4 separate regions of the Homo sapiens genome follow, and all the other regions are linked to region 1. The links are contacts of gene promoters, found by promoter capture Hi-C in blood cells and fetal thymus (Javierre and others, 2016). All regions are on one chromosome and are shown on one strand. The core of a region is centred on a gene start or on the middle of the fragment in contact, and the rest is flanking DNA. Distances in the headings are between cores, read along the strand shown. Region 1 holds the start of DNAAF2 (dynein axonemal assembly factor 2). Region 2 overlaps NEMF (nuclear export mediator factor). Region 3 overlaps NEMF (nuclear export mediator factor). Region 4 overlaps NEMF (nuclear export mediator factor).

Region 1 (4,972 bases), core at 1,993-4,492:
CTTGGAGCTCAGTGGTCAGGTAGAACTGGAGATACCATTTTGGAGTCACTAGTCTCACCCCAGATGAGATCCACGAGGGCAAAGTTTTTTTTTTTTTTTTTTTTTTCTTTTTTTTAGGCTAGGCAAGGTGGCTCATTCCTGTAATCCCAGCACTTTGGGAGGCCGAGGAGGGTGGATCACCTGAGGTCAGGAGTTTGACAGCAGCCTGGCCAACGTGGCGAAACCCCGTCTCTACTAAAAATAGAAAAATTAGCCGGGCGTGGTGGTGGGCATCTGTAATCCCAGCTACTCGGGAGGTTGAGGCAGGAGAACTGCTTGAACCTGGGAGGCGGAGGTTGCAATGAGCTGAGATTGTGCCACTGCACTGCAGCCTAGATAACAAAGGGAGACTCTGTCTCAAAAAAAAAAAAGTACATTTTTTAACTCTAAAAGTATAAGATACATAAAATCTACTGTCAGCGTACAGCACAATGAATTTCACAAATTGCACACCCAATGTAACCAAGATTAACAGACCCTCACCCAGAAGCTCTCCCAACATGGCCATCACTAGCTTGGCTTAACAGATTTATTTTGCCATGTTTTGTCTATTATATGACAGAGTCATATGTATTATTTTACATCTGGTTTCTTTCAAGCACCATTATGTTAATGATACTCATCTATACTGTTGAGTAGTGCATTGTGTGGGTGGATATTTACATTTATCCATTCTACTATGAATGAGAATTTGGGTTGCTTCCAGAATTTGTCAACTATGAAATAGTGCCGCTATGAATACACACATTGTAGTACATGTGTTTTGGTGGGGATATGTGTTTCTGTTGAATGTGTATCTGGGAGAATTTCATTGTCGTAAGCCTTATGTTAACAGTGTTCCAATATATACTCCCAGGATATGAAAGTGCAATTGCTGGCTGGGCATGGTGGCTTGTGCCTGTAATCCCAGCACTTTGGGAAGCCGAGGTGGGCGGATCACCTGAGCTCAGGAGTTGGAGACCAGCCTGACCAACATGGTGAAATCCCATCTCTACTAAAAAATACAAAAATTAGCTGGGCGCAGTGGTAGGTGCCTGCAATCCCAGCTACTTGGGAGGCTGAGGCAGGAGAATTGTTTGAACCCAGGAGGCGGAGGTTGCAGTGAGCCAAGATCGCGCCAAAGCACCCCAGTCTAGGCGACAGAGCAAGACTCTGTCTCAAAAAAAAAAGCAATGCAACTGCTTCACATCTTTGTTAATTACCTATATAATAAGTGCAATAAGCACACAATAAATATCTGTTGAAAGGACTAATTTGAACACAGATGGCATTTAAAACTATGGGCTTGGATAAGACATCTTGGAAGAAATGTGATTAGGTAAGAGGGCTGATGAACAAAGCCTTGGGCAACTCCCACATTTGCAGAACTGGCAGGAGCATAAAGGAGGAAAATGGGAGAGCTTGGAGTTCTGCAAAACATGAGAAAAATGTGTTTCGAAGGGGCAGTCAACTGCTTTGAATGCTTCCAAGAGACCATAAGATAAGGCAGTGGTTTGGGAAAAGAGGATTCAGGAGTTCTGATCTTGGTCATTTCAAGCCTGAGTAGCTTATGCATTAATCACTCAAATGGACACCTCAAACGTGCAGCTGGATATAGGAGTGTAAAATCTGAGTCTAAGACAAGTATTTGTGAGTGTAAATATATTTCTGAAGGAGAGTATAGATGGGTAAGAGATTGGGTCCCAGTTTTGGGGCATTTCCATGTAGAAGTTGAAAAGAAGTAGATACCTACAGAGCAAAACTATGAGAGTGATGAGACAGAAGAGAAATCTGGAAAGTGTCTTGTCACTGAGGTAATGCCAACATCAACTGTGTTAAATGTTGCTGAGAATAGAAAAATGATCACTGAATTGACCAATTACCAATGAATAAATAATTACTCCAGTAAATAAATATACTTCCATATGATCATTTTGAATGGTTGCACAAAACTCTGTTGCGTGGCTCTACCAAAACCTGCTCAATCAGTTCCATTGTTGAATTTGTAGATTCTTCTCAAACCTTTAGAATCATAAATGATGTCACCTTGAGAATGTTCTAAGAGTATTGTGTCAAATACTCTAAGGGCATTTGGGTCAAAAAAATATGCACATTAGAAAGGTTTTAGGCCGGGCGCGGTGGCTCATGCCTGTAATCCCAGCACTTTGGGAGGCTGAGGTGGGCAGATCACATGAGGTCAAGAGTGGGAGACCAGCCTGGCCAACATGGTGAAATCCCATCCCTACTAAAAATACAAAACTTAGCCGGACGTGGTGGTGAGTCACTGTAATCCCAGCTACCTGGGAGGCTGAGGCAGGGAGAATTGCCTGAACCCGGGAGGCGGAGGTTGCAGTGAGCCAAGACTGCACCACTGCACTCCAGCCTGGGTGACAGAGTGAGACAGCCTCAAAAAAAAAAAAAAAAAAAAAAAGGTTTTGGACCTGGTGTGGTGGCTCATGCCTGTAATCCTATAATCCCAGCACTCTGGGAGGCCGAGGCGGGCGGATCACGAAGTCAGGAGATCGAGACCATCCTGGCTAACACGGTGAAACCCTGTCTCTAGTAAAAATACAAAACATTAGCTGGGCGTAGTGGCAGGCGCCTGTAGTCCCAGCTGCTCGGGAGGCTGAGGCAGGAGAGTGGCGTGAACCTGGGAGGTGGAGCTTGCAGTGAGCCGAAACTGCGCCACTGCACTCCAGCCTGGGTGACAGAGCGAGACTCTGTCTCAAAAAAAGAAAAACAAAACAAAACAAAACAAAGTACGGTGGTGGGTTGGTTTGAAGAATCTAAGAGGGCTATTTCTGGCATTTCCACTATTCCACCATGATTTCCTTGAGAGACTTGCTCTGTCGCCCAGGCCGGAGTGCAGTGGCGCGATCTTGGCTCACCGCAAGAGCTCTGCCTCCTGGGTTTCACCCCATTCTACTGCCTCAGCCTTCCGAGTAGCTGGGACTACAGGCACCCGCCACCATGCCCGGCTAATTTTTTGTATTTTTAGTAGAGACGGGGTTTCACCGTGTTAGCCAGGATGGTCTCGATCTCCTGACCTCGTGATCCGCCCGCCTAGGCTTCCCAAAGTGCTGGGATTACAGGCCTGAGCCACCGCGCCCGGCCTATTCCACCATGATCTCTACCCCTCCTCCCGAATGTTAGTGGTGTAACTATGACAACAAGCACGCGCTGCTCAAGGCTCAATTTTCCAGCCGTTACCGACCTCCACCGCGTCACTGTACGCTGCCCAGAAACTCTGAGGCGGATCCCCCAACCCAGTGTCAGACTGATCGCCTTTGGCCCGAGGGCGAGGAGCCACAGGACAGTATGGCCAAAGCGGCGGCCTCCTCGTCGCTGGAGGACTTGGACCTGAGCGGAGAGGAGGTCCAGCGGCTCACCTCCGCCTTCCAGGACCCGGAGTTCCGGCGAATGTTCTCCCAGTACGCCGAGGAGCTCACCGACCCGGAGAACCGGCGGCGCTACGAGGCGGAGATCACCGCGCTAGAGCGTGAGCGCGGGGTGGAAGTGCGGTTCGTGCACCCGGAGCCCGGCCATGTGCTGCGCACCAGCCTGGACGGGGCGCGGCGCTGCTTTGTGAATGTCTGCAGCAACGCGTTGGTGGGCGCGCCCAGCAGCCGGCCCGGCTCCGGTGGCGACCGGGGCGCAGCTCCTGGCAGCCACTGGTCCCTGCCCTACAGCCTGGCGCCCGGCCGCGAGTACGCGGGGCGCAGCAGCAGCCGCTACATGGTCTACGACGTGGTCTTCCATCCAGACGCGCTTGCGCTGGCCCGGCGGCACGAGGGCTTCCGCCAGATGCTGGACGCCACGGCCCTGGAGGCCGTCGAGAAGCAGTTCGGCGTGAAGCTGGACCGCAGGAATGCCAAGACCCTGAAGGCCAAGTATAAGGGGACCCCAGAGGCTGCGGTGCTGCGCACGCCCCTGCCCGGGGTCATCCCCGCAAGGCCTGACGGGGAGCCGAAGGGTCCTCTCCCGGACTTCCCCTACCCTTACCAGTACCCGGCAGCCCCCGGGCCCCGGGCGCCCTCCCCTCCGGAAGCGGCCTTGCAGCCCGCCCCCACCGAGCCTCGCTACAGCGTGGTGCAGCGCCACCACGTGGACCTCCAGGATTACCGCTGCTCCAGGGACTCAGCCCCGAGCCCCGTGCCCCATGAGCTGGTGATCACCATCGAACTGCCGCTGTTGCGCTCGGCCGAGCAGGCGGCGCTGGAGGTAACGAGAAAGCTGCTGTGCCTCGACTCGAGGAAACCTGACTACCGGCTGCGGCTCTCGCTCCCGTACCCAGTGGACGATGGCCGCGGCAAGGCACAATTCAACAAGGCCCGGCGGCAGCTGGTGGTTACGCTGCCAGTGGTGCTGCCGGCCGCGCGCCGGGAGCCCGCTGTCGCCGTCGCCGCCGCCGCGCCGGAAGAGTCCGCGGACCGGTCCGGAACTGACGGCCAGGCCTGCGCTTCCGCTCGCGAGGGGGAGGCGGGACCCGCGAGGAGTCGCGCGGAGGACGGAGGCCACGATACCTGCGTGGCTGGGGCTGCGGGCTCCGGGGTCACCACCCTGGGCGACCCGGAGGTGGCGCCTCCGCCGGCCGCAGCTGGAGAGGAGCGTGTCCCCAAGCCGGGGGAGCAGGACTTGAGCAGGCACGCGGGGTCACCGCCGGGCAGCGTGGAGGAGCCATCTCCTGGAGGAGAAAACTCACCTGGTGGCGGAGGCTCCCCTTGTTTGTCCTCCCGGAGCCTGGCGTGGGGTTCTTCTGCGGGAAGAGAGAGTGCGCGCGGAGATAGCAGTGTGGAAACACGCGAGGAGTCGGAGGGCACGGGCGGCCAGCGCTCAGCCTGCGCCATGGGTGGTCCCGGGACCAAGAGCGGGGAGCCTTTGTGTCCTCCGTTACTGTGTAATCAGGACAAAGAAACCTTGACTCTGCTCATTCAGGTGCCTCGGATCCAGCCGC
Region 2 (5,181 bases), core at 1,279-3,778, 190 kb before region 1:
TTTTTGCGATGGAGTTTCACTCTTATTGCTCAGGCTGGAGTGCAATGGCTTGATCTCAGCTCACTGCAACTTCTGCCTCCCAGGTTCAAGCGATTCTCCCACCTCAGCCTCCTAAGTAGCTGGGATTACAGGCGCCCGCCACCACACCCAGCTAATTTTTGTAGTTTTAGTAGAGACAGGGTTTCACCATGTTGGTCAGCTTGGTCTCAAACTGCTGACCTCAGGTGATCCGCCCGCTTCAGGCCTTGACCTTCGGCCTCCCAAAGTGCTGGGATTACAGGTGTGAGCCACCATGCCTAGCCCCGTTGTGATCCTTTTGAATCAAAAGTGAAGACTGGGTGTGGTGGTTGACGCCTGTAATTCCAGCACTTTGGAAGGCCGAGGCCGGTGGATCGCTTGAAGCCAGGAGTTTGAGACCAGCCTGGCCAACATGGTGAAACCCCATATCTACTGAAAATACAAAAATTAGCCTGAGGTGATGGCGGGTACCTGTAATCCCAGCTACTTGGGCGGCTGAGGTGGGAGAATCTAATGAACCCGGGAGGTGGAGGTTGCAGTGAGCTGAGATCATGCCATTGCACTCTAGCCTGGGAGACAGAGCGAGACTCCGTCTCAAAAAATATATTAAAATAAATAAATCAAAAGTGAAGTCCTTTTTCTCTTCCAGTTGCTTCCCATCTTAATACAATTCAGAGCCCTTCTCCTATCCTGCAAGAAGGACGGGAGATCTCCTCCCCTCTGACCTCAACACCTGCATTCCTCCTCTCATACACTCTTTCTGGCTACACTGGGATCTTAGCTGTTCATAAAATAATGACACGTGCTCCCCTCTCAGGGTCTTTGCCCTTGCTGTTCTCTCTACCTGGAATTTTCAGTTTGACCCCTCTCTTCATTTACATATCCACTTAAATGAGATTTAATCAGAGAATCCTTCCTTGACCGCTCATTACTAACGATAGTACCACCCTGAATCTCTCTTTATTTTGCCTTATTTTCTTCTTGAAAAACACTCCCCCCAGCCCAACATATGTTTATTTGAATATTTTTTCTGGATTCCCTCTAGAATATAGATTGCATGAAAGTAGAATCTTTGTGTTGTTCATTGCTGCATCCCAATCCCTGGAATATTGCCTGGCACAGAGTAGGCACTTTAATAGCTGTTAAATGAGTGGCCTTCATGACTTGGCCCTCTGTCTATTGCTTCAACCTCATTTCTTGACATTATGCCCTTGATTACTACTTGCTGTACTTGCTGGTCTTTTTTTTTTTTTTTTTTTTGCTTGTAATGCCCTTTTTCCTATTCTTTGCCTGATAACCCCGTTAGTCGTTGAGGATTCAGCTTAAATGTCATTTCCTCAGAGATACCTTCTTTGACCATAACCCAGTGTAAATCGGGTTTCCTTGTTATATTCCTGTAGCATCTTTAGAAGCACTCACCATTATATATTTATTTAAAGGATTATATGATTAATAGTTGTCTCTTCTAGACCTAGTGGGGTGGGAGTGGGGGCTTTGTCCATCTTGTTCACTCTTATATCTCTAATGGCATCTAGCCTAGAACCAAGCATATGATAGGTACTCAGTATCTAGAAAATGACAAGGTATTTATTACTTTGTAGGTCTTGGGCAAATATTTTCATGTAGTAATTCTTTAGTTTAGATTATTTTAATACTTCAGGCAAAAATATTTTCATTTCTTCATTACTTTCAAGTATGCGTATTTGTGTGTGTGTGTGTTTGTGTGTGTGTGTGTAGATTGTGCCATTTTGTGACATTTAAAAAAATTCTTGCCCCATTATTTACTTTGGTGTTATTTAAATACATTCTTAACAAATTGTTTTTAAAACTCTTTTCTATAAATAGGCATTCAAGTCAGCAGAAAAGAAAACAAAGCAAACATTAAAAGAAGTTCAGACTGTTACCTCTATTCAAAAAGCAAGAAAAGTATATTGGTAAGTGTTCTGTCTCTTTCAAATACAGTTTTTGTTTTTATTAAAATTATCCATGCACATTGTTTAGAAAAGTCAAACAGTTCTACAAAGCTTGTTACAAAACCAGTAGCTCTGCAATTTTTTGTTGGTTTGTTTGAGACAGGTTCTCTGTCACCCAGGGTGGAATACAGTGGCATGAACATGGCTCACTGTAGCATTGACCTCCTGGGCTCTGACAGTTCTCCCACCTCAGCCTCCCAAGTAGCTGAGACTACAGGCACATGCCACTGTGCCCAGCTAATTTTTTAATTTTTTGTAGAGGCAGGGTCTCACTTTGTTGCCCAGGCTGGTCTCAAACTTCTAGGCTCAAGAGATCCTCCTGCCTCAGCCTCAGTGCTGGATTACAGGCATACGCTTCTGCACTCAGCTAGTTCTCCAGTTCCTCACCTTTACTCCTATTGCCTGCTCTCCGAAGGAAACCACTTTTAGCTCTTTTAGTTGATTCTTTTGATATTTGCCTTTATTTATCTTAGTAATATGTTTATATTGCTACTTCTTAATTTTTCTGTTTTATATTCTTACTAACTTCCCACTGGGAAAGATGAGGATTTCCCTCTTTCCACTTGTGTTCCATTACATACACACACAGTTACAGCATAATTTTGTCAAGATTAATAGCATTGGCATCATTATAAATATTTAAATTGTAGTCATATAATTTATATGTCATAGCTGACCCACATAGAATTCTGTTTTCTTTTTCCTTCCTTGCTCAGTTTTAAAAATCTTCCCTGGAGTTATTAATTGTCATTTCATTTGCTTTTTATTTTTGTTCTTATCACTAATTTATCTAAATAATATCTTCCAAGTGTGTTCAGACACATTGGAATTCAATCAGTATCATCTTGCAGAGGTCAGAAGTCTCTCCTGGAGCTTTTTGACTTACTTAATTTTATATTGGTTCTCTCTAAGCATCGTACACTTTTCTTTTTATTGTTATCTTTATCCTTCTCTGTTTTGGAAACTCTTTTCTGGATCTCATACTTCTTTCTTGGTTGAAAGAGTGTGTGTTCCAGAAGCTTCACAAGAAAGGGTGTATAGAAAGCAGAGTTTTTGAGGTCTCCAATGTATAAAACATTTTACTCTTATAGTTTGAGTGGGCTGGGCATGGTGGCCCATTCCTGTAATCTCAGCACTCTGGGAGGGTGAGGTGGGTGGACCTCTTGACCTCTGGAGTTCGAGACTAGCCTGTGCAACATGCCAAACCCCGTCTCTTAAAAAAAAAAATTGAGTATAGAATTCTATGAAAATATATTTTCCTCAGACTTTTTTTTTTTTTTTTTGAGACGGAATTTCACTTTTATTGCCCAGGCTGGAGTGCAGTGGCGCAGTCTTTGGCTCACTGTAACCTCTGCCTTCCAGTTTGAAGCGATTCTCATGCCTCAGCCTCTGGAGTAGCTGGGATTACAGGCACCCACCACCACGCCTGGCTAATTTTTGTATTTTTAGTAGAGATGGGGTTTCACCTTACTTGCCACCCTGGTCTCAAACTCCTGACCTCGTGTTCCACCCGCCTCAGCCTCCCAAAGTGTTGGGATTACAGGCGTGAGCCACCACGCCCCGCCTCCTCAGACTTTTAAAGGTATTGCTTCATTATAGTAACTTGAGAAATCTGGTATTATTTTGATAGTTGATATTTTATTTATTTTATTTTTTTTGAGACAGAGTCTCACTTTGTTGCCCAGGCTGGAGTGCAGTGGCATGATCTTGGCTCACTGCAACCTCCGCTTCCTGGGTTCAAGTGATTCTCCTGTCTCAGCCTCCCGAGTAGCTGGGATTACAGGTGCACGCCACCATGCCCAACTAATTTTTGTGTGTTTAGTAGAGAAGGGTTTCTGCCATGTTGCCCATGCTGGTCTCTTAACTCTTGGCCTCAAGTGATCTGCCCGCCTCAGCCTCCCAAAATGCTGGGATTACAGGCTTGAGCCATCACACCTGGCTGATAGTTGATATTTTACATGAAACTTGTTTTTGCCTCTCTACAAGCTTGTAGATATTTCTCCCCTCCCAATTTTTTCTCCAAATTTTTCAAAATTTTACAATTGGGGTTGGTGGTGATGTTTTAATCCATTATGTTGGATACTTTGTGGGCTGTTTTAATTCAGAAACTTTCAGTTCTGAGACATTTTCTGGAAATAGTTCTTGAAAAACTGCCTGACCTCTGCTTTCTTTTTTCTTTTCCTTCTGGAAATCTTGTTTTTAAGATATGGAACCCCCTAGACCAGTCCTCCAATTTTGTTGTATTTTCTATTTTCAAGTCTATCGTTTTGCTCTACATCCTGGGAGTTTCCTCAGCTTTATCTTCCACCAAATCTTTCCACTGAATATTTTATTACTTCCTATCATGTTTTTAATTTTAAGAACTCTCTTTTCAACATAATGTTCCTGGCAAAAAAAGAGAGGACTTTTTTTTTTTGGTTCTTGGAATATACCCTTTTTAAAAAAATAAATAAGTTTCTGCTTTAGTTTCTTTTAGCTCTCTGAGAATAGTTTTGATGTATTAAATTTTTTTAGTATTCTTTTTTGGCAAGTCTCTGTCTTCTCCAAGTTGTTTCTTTTTAAATTTTTTTAAATTATATATATTTAGGCTGGGCACAGTGGTGCTCACCCATGTAATCCTAGCACTTTGGGAGACCAAGACAGGTGGATCACTGGGGGTTAGGAGTTTGAGACCAACCTGGCCAACATGGTGAAAACCCATCTCTACTAAAAATACAAAAAAAATTAGCTGAGTGTGGTGGCAGGTGCCTGTAATCCCAGCTACTAGGGAGGCTGAGACACAAGAATCACTTGAACTTGGGAGGCAGAGGTTTCAGTAAGCCGAGATCGTGCCACTGCACTCCAGCCTGGGTGACAGAGCAAGACTCTTTCTCCAAAAAAAAAAAAAAAAAAATCTCTAAGGGGACTCTGATAATGCTAGGCCTCTCAAGAACAAAAAGTTAAGGTCATGCAGTCCCCCTACCACACCACACATACTGATAGGAGACCAGAAGTTAATCTCTTCAGCAGACATACTCCCTTTCTTCACTTAACATGGCAGTAGGCTTTCCACAATCTATCACACACATAGACATTGTCATCCTTTTCATCCCTGCAGTGCATAAATGAGAGGAAAGGGCCACCATTACCTCTTTTTTTTTTTTTTTTTTTTTTTTTTTTAAGTAGAGACTGGATCTTTCAGTGTTGGCCA
Region 3 (5,181 bases), core at 1,986-4,485, 170 kb before region 1:
AATATTAGCAAACTGAATCTAGCAGCATATTAAAATGACTATATACGATGACAAAGCGTAATTTATCTCAGGAATGAAAGCTTGGTTCAGTATATGGAAATTAATGTAATATAATCTACTAATAAAGGACAAAAAACACACATGGATTATCTCAACTTATGAAGAAAAACCATTTGACAAAATTCAACATTTGTTTGTGATAAAAACACTCAGCAAACTAGGAATAGAAGGGATATTCCTCAACTTGGTAAACAAGCATTTATGAAAAACCGACAGCTAACAATCATACTTAATGCTGAAAGATTGGGTACCTTCCTCCTCCCATCAGTAATAAGACAAATATGTCTGTTCTTGCCATTTCTATTTAACATTATACTGGTGGTTCTATATAGGTCATTAGGCAATAAAAAGAAAAAAAAATCCAAATTAGGCAAAAGTAAAGCTACCTATGTTTACAGTTGATATGGTCACACACATTTAAAAAACCTAAAGAATCTACCAGTAATTATCAGAGCTAATAAACAAGTTCAGCAATGTCCAGGATATGAGATCAGTAAACAAAAATCAGTTGTATTTCTGTACACTACCAGTGAACAATCTGAAAAGGAAATTAATAAAACAATTCAATTTATAATTAGCATTAAAAAGAATAAAATACTTAGGAATCAATTTACCAAAAGACTTACAACGCTTATAGATAACAAACTATAAAATTATTTTAAGGAATTAAAGACCTAAATTGGACATCCCATGTATATGTATTGGAAGTCTTAATATTGTTCTGATAGCAGTACTCCCCAGTAATCTAGGAATTCACTGTAATCCCTCTCAAAATTGCAGCTGCTTTTTTTGTTTTGTTTTGAAACAGGGTCTCCTGTCACCCAGGCTGTAATAAAGTGGTGCGATTGGCTCACTGCAGCCTTGAACTTTCAGGCTGAAGCGATCCTCCCATCTCAACCTCCTGAGTAGTTGGGACCATAGACATTTGCCACTGTGCCCAACTTATTTTTGTGTTTTTTGTAGAGATGAGGTTTTGCCATGTTGTCCAGACTAGTGTCGAGCTCCTGAGCTCGAGCAGTCCATCCACTTTGACCTCCTAAAGTACTGGGATTACAGGCATGAGCCACTGCCCCTGGCCCTGCATTTTATTTTATTTTATTTTTTCAGAGATGGAGAAGCTGATTCTAAAATTCATGTGGTAATGCAAGGAGACTCAGATTAGCGAAAGCAGTATTGAAAATGAAGAGCAAATTTTGAAGGACTCATGTTTCCTGATTTTAAAGCTTTCTACAGAGTAACAGTAATCAGGACACTGGTACTGGCATGAGGATGGACAAATAGATCAAGGGATAGAATCGAGATTCCAGAAATAAACCTGTAGTTTATGGTCAGTTAATTTTCAGCAGGGGTGCCAAGACCAATGGGGATAGAATTTCCTCTTTCTTTTTTTCTTTTTTTAATTTTTTGTTTTTGGTTTTTTGAGATGGAGTCTTGCACTGTCACCCAGGCTGGAGTGCAGTGGTGTGATCTCGGCTCATGCAAGCTCTGCCTCCTGGGTTCACACCATTCTCCTGCCTCAGCCTCCCGAGTAGCTGGGACTACAGGCGCCCTCCACCACGCCCGGCTAATTTTTTGTATTTTTAGTAGAGACGAGTTTTCACCGTGTTAGCCAGGATGGTCTTGATCTCTTGACCTTGTGATCCGCCCGCCTCAGCCTCCCAAAGTGCTGGGATTACAGGCACGAGCCACCGCACCCGGCCTCTTTTTTTAAATAGACATTTTTTTCGACCAGTTTTAGGTTCACAACAAAATTGAGCAGAATGTATAGTGATTTCCCTCATACCCCCTGCTGCATGCATGCGTAGCCTCCCCTATTATCGATATCCCCCACCAGAACGGTACATTTGTTACAACTAATGAACCTACATTGACACATCATTATGGCCCAGAGTCCATAGTTTGCATTAGAGTTCACTCTCTTTTTTTGAGACAGAGTCTCGCTCTGTTGCCCAGCCTGGAGTGCAGTTGCGTAATCTCAGCTTACTGCAACGTCTGCCTCCCAGGTTCAAGCGATTCTCCTGCCTCAGCCTCCAGAGTAGCTGGAATTAACAGGCACGTGCCACCACACCCAGCTAGTTTTTGTATTTTTAGAAGAAACAGGGTTTTACTATGTTGGCCAGGCTGGTCTCGAACTCCTGACAAGTGTTCTGCCCACCTCAGCCTCCCAAAGTGCTGGGATTACAGGCATGAGTCACCAAGCCCAGCCAGGGTTCACTCTTGATGTATATAGTCTTTGAGTTTGGACAAATGTGTAAAACATGTATCTGCCATTGTATTATCATACAGATTTAGTTTGGTTGTGCTAAAAAAGTCCTCTGTGCCCTGCCTGTTCATCCCTCCCTTCCCCCAACCCCCGACAACCACTGATCTTTAAAGGCTGGCTTCTTCACTTAGTAGTATGCTTTTACCTTTCCTCCATGTCTCTTCATGGCTTGATAGCTCATTTCTTTTTATCCCTGAATAATATTCAGTTGTCTGGATGAACCACAGTTTATCCATTAATCTACTGAATTTGGTTGCCCCCATGTTTTGGCAATATGAATAAAGCTACTATAAACATCTGTGCAGGTTTTTGTACAGATATAAGTTTTCAGTTCATTTTGGTAAATACCAAACATCAATATTGTTGAATCACATGGTAAGAGTATTTTTAGTTTTGTAAGAAACCACCAGACTGTCTATTCTAAAGTGGCTGTACCCTTTTACATCACCACCAGCAATGGGAGTTCCTGTTGTTCCACTGCCACCAGAATTTAGTGTTGTCAGTGTTTTGGATTTTGGCCATTATCATTGATGCATAGTGTATTTCAATGTTGTTGTAATTTGCATTTCCTTGGTGACATATGATGCAGAGCATCTTTTCATATGCTTATTAGATATTCATATGTATATCTTCGATGCAGTATCTGTTAAAAGTCTTTGGCCCATTTGTTAATTGGGCTGTTTGTGTTTTTACTGTTGAGTTCTAAGAGTTTTTTTATATTTTAGATAACAATCTTTTATCTGCTATGTCTTTTGCAAGTATTTTCTGCCAGTCAGTGGCTTAACTTTTTAACGGTAGTATGGCACTACTAGATATCCACATGCAAAAGATTGAGGTTAGACCTCTTAATCACACCATTTATAAAAATTAACTTAAAATGCATCCAAGACCTAAACTTAAAAGCCAGAAGTATAAAGCTGCTAGAAGAAAACAAGGCATAAATTTTTATGATCTTGTATCATGCAGTAATTTCTTAGATATGATACCAAAATCATAAGTAATCAAACAAAAAACAGGTAAGTTAGACATAAAATTAAAAACCTTAATTCAGCCCGGCACGGTGGCTCATGCCTGTAATCCCAACACTTTGGGAGGCCGAGGCAGGTGGATCACCTGAGGTCAAGAGTTCGAGACCAGCCTGGCCAACATGGTGAAACCCTGTATCAACTAAAAAATATGAAAAATTAGCCTGGTATGATGGCGGGTGCCTGTAATCCAAGCTACTTGGGAGGCTGAGTCAGGAGAATCGCTTGGACCCTGGAGGCGAAGGTTGCAGTGAGCTGAGATGGCATCATTGCACTCCAGCCTGGGCAATGAGCGAAATTCTGTCTCAAAAAATAAAATAAATAAATAAAACCTTAATCCAAGGAACATTATCAAGAAAGTAAAAAGACAACCCACAGAATAAGAGAAAATATTTGCAAATCATATATCTGATGAGTCTAGTGTCCAAAGAATTCCTAAGTTTCAACAATAGAAAGGGAAGTAACCCAGCTGAAAAATGAGCAAGAGATTTGAATGGATATTTCTGCAAAGATACGTGAATGGCCAACAATCACATGAAACGATTCTCAGTATCATCAGTTATTAGGAAAATTTAAATCAAAATCACAAGATACCAGTCAGGCGCTGTGGCTCATGCATGTAATCCCAGCACTTTGGGAGGCAGAGGCAGGTAAATCACTTGAGGTCAGGAGTTTGAGACCAGCCTGGCCAGTATAGTGAAACCCCATCCCTAGTAAAAAAATATATATATATAAAAATTAGCCGGGCGTAGTGGTGCATGCCTGTAATCCCAGCTACTCAGGAGGCTGAGGCAGGAGAATCACTTCCCAGGTGGTGGAGGTTGCAGTGAGCCGAGATCACGCCACTGCACTCCAGCCGGGGTGAAAAGAGAGAGACTCCGTCTCAAAAAAAAAAAAAAAAAAAAATCACAAGATACCACTTTATACCCACTAACATGTGCTGGTGATGATGCTGGAGAAAACAATAACACGTGTTGGTGATGATGGTGGAGAACATAGAATACTGCTGGTAGGAATGGACAATGATACAGCTGCTGTGGGAAGTGGTTTGGCAGTTCCAAAAAATGTTAAACATAATTGACCCAGCAATTCCTCTCTTAGGTATATACCCAAGATGAGCAAAGGTATGTGTCTACACAAAACTTGTTTGCAGATATTGATAGCAGCATTATTTATAATAGCCAAGAAATGGAAACAATCCATATGTCATTCAATTAATGAATAAACAAAATGTGATATATCCATATAATGGAATATTATTCAGACTTGCAAAGAACAGAAGTACTTATATGTGCTTTTAACATGGATGAATCTTGAAAAACATTAAGCTAAGTGAAAGAAGCCAAACCTAAAATGCTGTGTATGATTACATTTGTATGAAATGTCCAAAATAGGCAAAACCATAGAGACAGAAAATAGATTAGTAATTGCCAGGGGCTGGGTACAGAGGAGAAAATGGGGAGTGGCTGCTAATGAATATAGGGTTTCTTTTCTGGGATGATGAAAATATTCTGGAATTAAATAGTATTGATGGTCATGGTCACACAGCATTATGAATATACAAAAAGCCACTGAATTGTATACTTTAAAGGGGTGAATTTTATGGCATGTGAATTATACCCCAATTTAAAAATATTTGAAATCTAACCATAAGGGACATGTTATTCATATATGCTCTTCATGTTCATGATTCAGCCAATCTATTTTAATTTTGGAAGTCTTCAAACTTTAAATGGATTTCTCTAAATTATCTTTTCTGGAGTGAAGTTAGAATTATTGATGTGAGAGGATATTTCTTCTCTGACATGTTTTATTTACGTAGGTCATTTAAAA
Region 4 (5,181 bases), core at 1,322-3,821, 150 kb before region 1:
CAGGTGATCCACCTACCCAGACCTCCCAAAGTGTTGGGATTACAGGTGTGAGCCACCGTGCCAGACCCTCACATGACTTTTGGATCCCTAAGTATGCATTTCTGTTCATATACATATGAGTGGAATTTTCTGGGTTGTGGCATACATGTTGTTTGCCTTTATTAGATCCTGTCAATCAGTTTTCCAGAGCACCTGTATCAATTTCCCACCAGGCAGTGTATGAGAGTTCCAGTTGTCCCCCATCCGTAGTAACACTTGGTATTGTTTTCTTTTTTCAGTCATTTAAGTGTGTATATGCTGATAGCTCATTTGGCTTTTATTTCATGTTCCTGATGACTAATGATATTGAGCGCTTTCTCATGTTTTTTGGACCTTTGTGTATCCTCTTTCGAAGTGCCTATTTTAAAAATTGGTTTGTCCTGTCTTTCTAGTTGATGTATAAGGGTTCTCTGCAATCCTGAATACAAGTCCTTTCTCGGATATATGTATTGCAAGCGTTTTTCACACTTTGGGGATTGCTGTTTTTCACTTTTTAATAGTCTTTTTTGATGAGTAGCATTTTTAAATTCTAATTGAGTCTGATGTATCAGTCTTTTACGGTGTTTGTGTCCTGTTTAGGGACACAAATTTACAATTTTCAAAATGTGTTATTTCAGTCCCAGTTAACACAGTTAATCAAGACAAAAATCTCTAGGGTGGGGCCTAGATGTTTATAGTTTAAAACCCCTAGAGTGATTTGGGGATGTAATCAGGGTAAAGAATCATTGGTTTATTTAATAAAATACAGAGTCTTGAAAGCCTCTAGAATAAGTGCCTAGCCTAGCTTTGCTGCTTTATTTCCTGTTCTTCCTCCATGTGTACCCTGACCCAAACCAAATGTGATGACTTGCTATTACTGTTCTCTTCCTTTTTAGACTTGCTTTTCCAATACTGTTTTACTTTATTTCTTCCTCACAGTTCTTTATGTTTTGTTAATGTATTCTTACTTCTCTGTGTATCTTCTCTCCACCCTATGGTAAATTCCTTGAAGATGAGGACTTCAGTTATCCAACTTTGTAGCCTTCATATTGTTTATTATAATGGTGCCTTATTCAGTAAGCATTTTTGACAGAGAATATAAAGTAACACCATTTCTTTGCAAGTATTTGTTGACATTTTTTTGCTGCTGAATATTTCCAACCAAAATCTTCTGATTTTGTAGAGTAAAATGAAAAAAATGAAAGAAAAATACAAAGACCAGGATGAAGAAGACCGTGAACTTATCATGAAGTTGCTGGGGGTAAATAACATCTAAAAACATTTTTTCTTTTGCTTTTCAAATGGGCATCTAGCCCACTGCCTAGCGTATGACAGGCATTCAATACATTCTTGTTAAAATATTCACAGTATTGAAAATACAACACTGACTGATGTTTCCTCTATGAATTAAAGTCTGCAGGTTCAAACAAAGAAGAAAAAGGGAAGAAGGGGAAGAAAGGAAAAACAAAGGACGAACCTGTGAAGAAACAGCCCCAGAAACCTAGAGGTGGACAGAGGGTCTCTGACAACATTAAGAAAGAAACTCCGTTCCTTGAGGTTATAACTCATGAGTTACAAGACTTTGCTGTAGATGATCCACATGATGACAAGGTATGGCTACTTTGTGGGCTTCTGCTTCTTAATTAGGGTGATTACCCATCCTGGAGTTCCCAGGACATGGGACTTTCAGTGCTAAAACCAAGACAAGTGAGTAACCCTATTCTTAATGGAATGTCATCCAGAAATACAACCTGAAAGACTAAAATTGCAGTATCTTATCTAAGCATGATAATGGTAGTACTGATAGCTGATAACAATTTTGTTACAAGCCTTTAGGAAGTAATCAGTTTTAAGGAGAGGCTTTGATTCTGATGGGAACTGAATTAAATTAAGACAGAGAGGCCTGGCACGGTGGCTCACGCCTGTAATCCCAGCACTTTGAGAGGCCAAGGCAGGCAGATCACAAGGTCAGGAGATTGAGACCATGCTGGCTAACGTGGTGAAACCCTGTCTCTACTAAAAAAATACAAAAAAATTAGCCGGGTGTGGTGGTGAGCGCCTGTAGTCTCAGCTACTTGGGAGGCTGAGGCAGAATAGCGTGAACCTGGGAGGCAGAGCTTGCAGTGAGCCGAGATTGTGCCACTGCACTCCAGCCTGGGCGACAGAGCGAGACTCCATCTCAAAAAAAAAAAAAAAAAGAGAGAGAGAAAATTGGGATTGTCTTGAAGATGTGTAGAAAATAAATTTTCACTTTCTCTAAGCTTTTCTATAGGAATCTATGCCATATGGTCGTACATAATGTTGAAAATGAGTACACCATTTAAGAGCCAAGTACTCTGGTTACAAAACCAGTGAGTTCGTATTTTTCCAGCTAAGATGATTGCCTAATTGTTTTATTAACAGTACAGCAAGCCCAGCCTTCTGTATATCTTCTTACATGAATATGTACCTCTTCTTGAATTTTTTTTTTTTTTTTTTTTGAGGCAGTCTTGCTCTGTTGCCCAGGCTGGAGTGCAGTGGCACAATCTCAGCTCACTGCAACCTCCACCTCCCGGATTCAAGCAATTATCCGGCCTCAGCCTTCTGAGTAGCTGGGATTACAAGCATGCACCATCACGCCTGGCTTATTTTTGTATTTTTAGTGGTGATGGGGTTTCACCATGTTGGCCAGGCTGGTCTTGAACTCCTGATCTCAGGTGATCCGCCTGCCTTGGCCTCCCAAAGTGTTGGGATTACAGGCGTAAGACACATGCCCAGCCTGTTTATTTTTTAATAACGGCTTAAAATAGAGGCCAGATAAAAAATTTTTACCTTTGTCACCAGCATTTTTTTTATGTAAAGCTTGAGTTATAATTGTGTGCTCAGTTTAGTGCAGGTAATGCTTACAGGGATTCTGTATTACTATTTTCTTTTTTTTCCTGCTGAACAGTTGTTGTTTAGTAATACTAAAACTCGTTTTGGCTTTTAAAATTTGTACAATATCCTTATGTTCTGTAAATCCTAGACTCACAAATACTCACTAGAGGTGTTAATTATTAATGTTCTTTCATGAGTAGGTGCTATGGTCTAAATGTTAATATCCCCCCACAATTCATATATGGGAACCTAAATACCCAGTGTGATGGTATTAAGAGGTTGGGCCTTTAGGAAGTGAAGTCACGAGGGCTCTTCTGTCATGAATGAGATGAGTGCCCTTTTGCCACGTGAGGACACTGCAATAAGGTGCCATCTTTTTTTAAGATGAGGTCTCCCTGTGTTGCCCAGGCTGGTGTCGAACTCCTGGGCTCAAGGGATCCCCCGACCTTGGCCTCCCAAAGTGCTGGGATTACAGGTATGAGCCACCACACCCAGCCTAAGGTACCATCTTTGAGGCAAGCCCTTATCAGACATTGAATCTGCTGGTGCCTTGATGCTGGACTTCCCAGCCTTCAGAACTGTAAGAAGTAAAATTTCTGTTGTTTCTAAATTATACAGGCTAAGGTATTTTGTTACAGCAGCCTGAACAGACTGAGACAGTCAGTTATCTCCAGATAGATTTTTCTTAAGCAAACAAAATTAAGCATATTTTATGGGATATGGGAAAAATTTATCCAAAACTGTTGAACAGATATTTAAAAATAAAAGTTCTGTTGACCAAAATTCTCCATTTGCTTTTCTCCTGGCAAACTTATCAACCTTAGTTGTCATTTTAAATTGTACTTGTAACTTTTGCTGCTTTAACATATACTTTATATGAAAGTTTCAGTTCCCACCTCCTCTACTTCAGAGAACTACCCTTCTTCTCTTGAATGACATTACTTTCTTAAGTAATAAAACAGACACACACAAACACATATACGAATCCACTTCAGAGTCTTAGGAAGAATATAACCTTGAGGCCCCCTATCCTGTGGGTCAGAAATGACAGTCTGGTTGTATCACTGTTTCTTTCTCCTTATGGTTTAATGATGTGGAATTTTCATTTTACATTATAGCTGACATTTTTATTTTTATATGTTCGGAACAGGAAGAGCAAGATCTGGATCAACAGGGAAATGAGGTATGATTTTATGTTGGGGTTCCTACTACAACACTGTGATTACAATTCAGTTCCCAGAATGTTTGAAACACAACTTATTAAAACTTAGAAACCTAAGACAAGACTGCAGGCTACGAAGTCAAACTTTCGGGGTCTTAATCCCAACTCTGCTATATGTAACTGTACAAACTTGGAAACATTCTTTGTGCCTCAGTTTCCTCATCTGAAGAATGGGGATAATGTCCCTACCCAGGAGAGGGTTGTTTTGATAACTAATGTATGTAAAGGGCATTTAGAAAAGTTTATGGCACATAGCAAACACTCAAATATTAATTATACTTCAGCACCAAGCATTCTGTCCTAAATCTAAGTTTATTCATATTGTAAAATAAATGGGGGCAATCTCACAGGCAGCACAGCAAATAAGAACTCTGGGATTTCTCCTTAATAATGGGTAAGAGAGAAGGCTGTTCTAGCCCAGGGTTTCTCAACTTTGGCACTATTAACATTAGGGGTTGGTTAATTCTTTGTTGTGGGGTCTGTCCCATTCATTATAAAATGTTTAGCGACATCCTCGGCCTTTACCCACTAGATCCCAGTAGCAGCCCCTACCTATTCCTTCTCACCCCTCATCGTGTCAACGAAAACTATCTCTAGACATTGCCCATTGTCTTCTGAGGGCAGAATCTCCCCAGGACGAGAAATAGTGGTATAGCCAAGGTATTAGTCCCATTTCCATGTGATAGGACTTAAATCTATTTGTGGTTATTATTGCATCATTTTAATCCACAGCAGGTTTCTGCAACTCAGGTAATATCCAATAGTTTTTTTCCTTTTTTTTTTTTTTTTGAGACAGGGTCTCTGTCACCCAGGCTGGTGTCACCCAGTGCAGTGACAGGATCATGGCTCTCCACAACGTCTACCTCCTGGGCTCAGGTGATCCTCCCCCCCTCAGTCTTCCGAGTAGCTGGGACTACAGGCACCCACTATACCCAGCTAACTTTTATATTTTTTGTAGAGATGGTGTTTCTCCATGTTGCTTAGGCTGGTCTTGAACTCCTGGGCTCAAGCGATCCACCCGCCTCAGCCTGAGCCTTCCAGAGTCCTAGGATTATAGGCGTGAACCACTGCTCCTGGGCCTTCTT

The links. Contacts are between HindIII fragments. The CHiCAGO score rates a contact against its expected background, and 5 or more counts as called.
Region 2: a fragment that was not itself captured here is called in contact with the fragment with the promoter of DNAAF2 in region 1 in 7 of 17 cell types (erythroblasts, megakaryocytes, total CD8 T cells and 4 more); the score reaches 11.4 in erythroblasts.
Region 3: a fragment that was not itself captured here is called in contact with the fragment with the promoter of DNAAF2 in region 1 in 3 of 17 cell types (erythroblasts, naive CD4 T cells and megakaryocytes); the score reaches 6.1 in erythroblasts.
Region 4: a fragment that was not itself captured here is called in contact with the fragment with the promoter of DNAAF2 in region 1 in 4 of 17 cell types (erythroblasts, megakaryocytes, total CD8 T cells and 1 more); the score reaches 8.6 in erythroblasts.

What each region holds. Positions count from the first base shown.
Region 1 is chr14:49,633,514-49,638,485 of GRCh38, reverse strand. DNAAF2 (dynein axonemal assembly factor 2) reads left to right here and starts at 3,242. Exons shown (of 3, transcript NM_018139.3): 1 at 3,242-4,972. The coding sequence starts at 3,337. RefSeq lists silencers at 3,621-3,670, 3,901-4,140, 4,411-4,680 and enhancers at 3,598-4,358, 4,171-4,410, 4,961-4,972. The HindIII fragment of the contact is 6,803 bases long and covers 1-4,972 here.
Region 2 is chr14:49,822,638-49,827,818 of GRCh38, reverse strand. It overlaps NEMF (nuclear export mediator factor), which reads left to right. Exons shown (of 33, transcript NM_004713.6): 16 at 1,864-1,952. Among named protein-coding and RNA genes, the nearest start is that of NEMF, 28 kb to the left of the region's middle. The HindIII fragment of the contact is 968 bases long and covers 2,045-3,012 here.
Region 3 is chr14:49,806,666-49,811,846 of GRCh38, reverse strand. All of the region lies in intron 18 of NEMF (nuclear export mediator factor), which reads left to right. Among named protein-coding and RNA genes, the nearest start is that of KLHDC2, 41 kb to the right of the region's middle. The HindIII fragment of the contact is 3,899 bases long and covers 1,286-5,181 here.
Region 4 is chr14:49,785,594-49,790,774 of GRCh38, reverse strand. NEMF (nuclear export mediator factor) reads left to right here. Exons shown (of 33, transcript NM_004713.6): 27 at 1,202-1,279; 28 at 1,432-1,629; 29 at 4,025-4,057. It overlaps KLHDC2 (kelch domain containing 2), which reads right to left. Exons shown (of 13, transcript NM_014315.3): 13 at 4,390-5,181. Among named protein-coding and RNA genes, the nearest start is that of KLHDC2, 20 kb to the right of the region's middle. The HindIII fragment of the contact is 580 bases long and covers 2,282-2,861 here.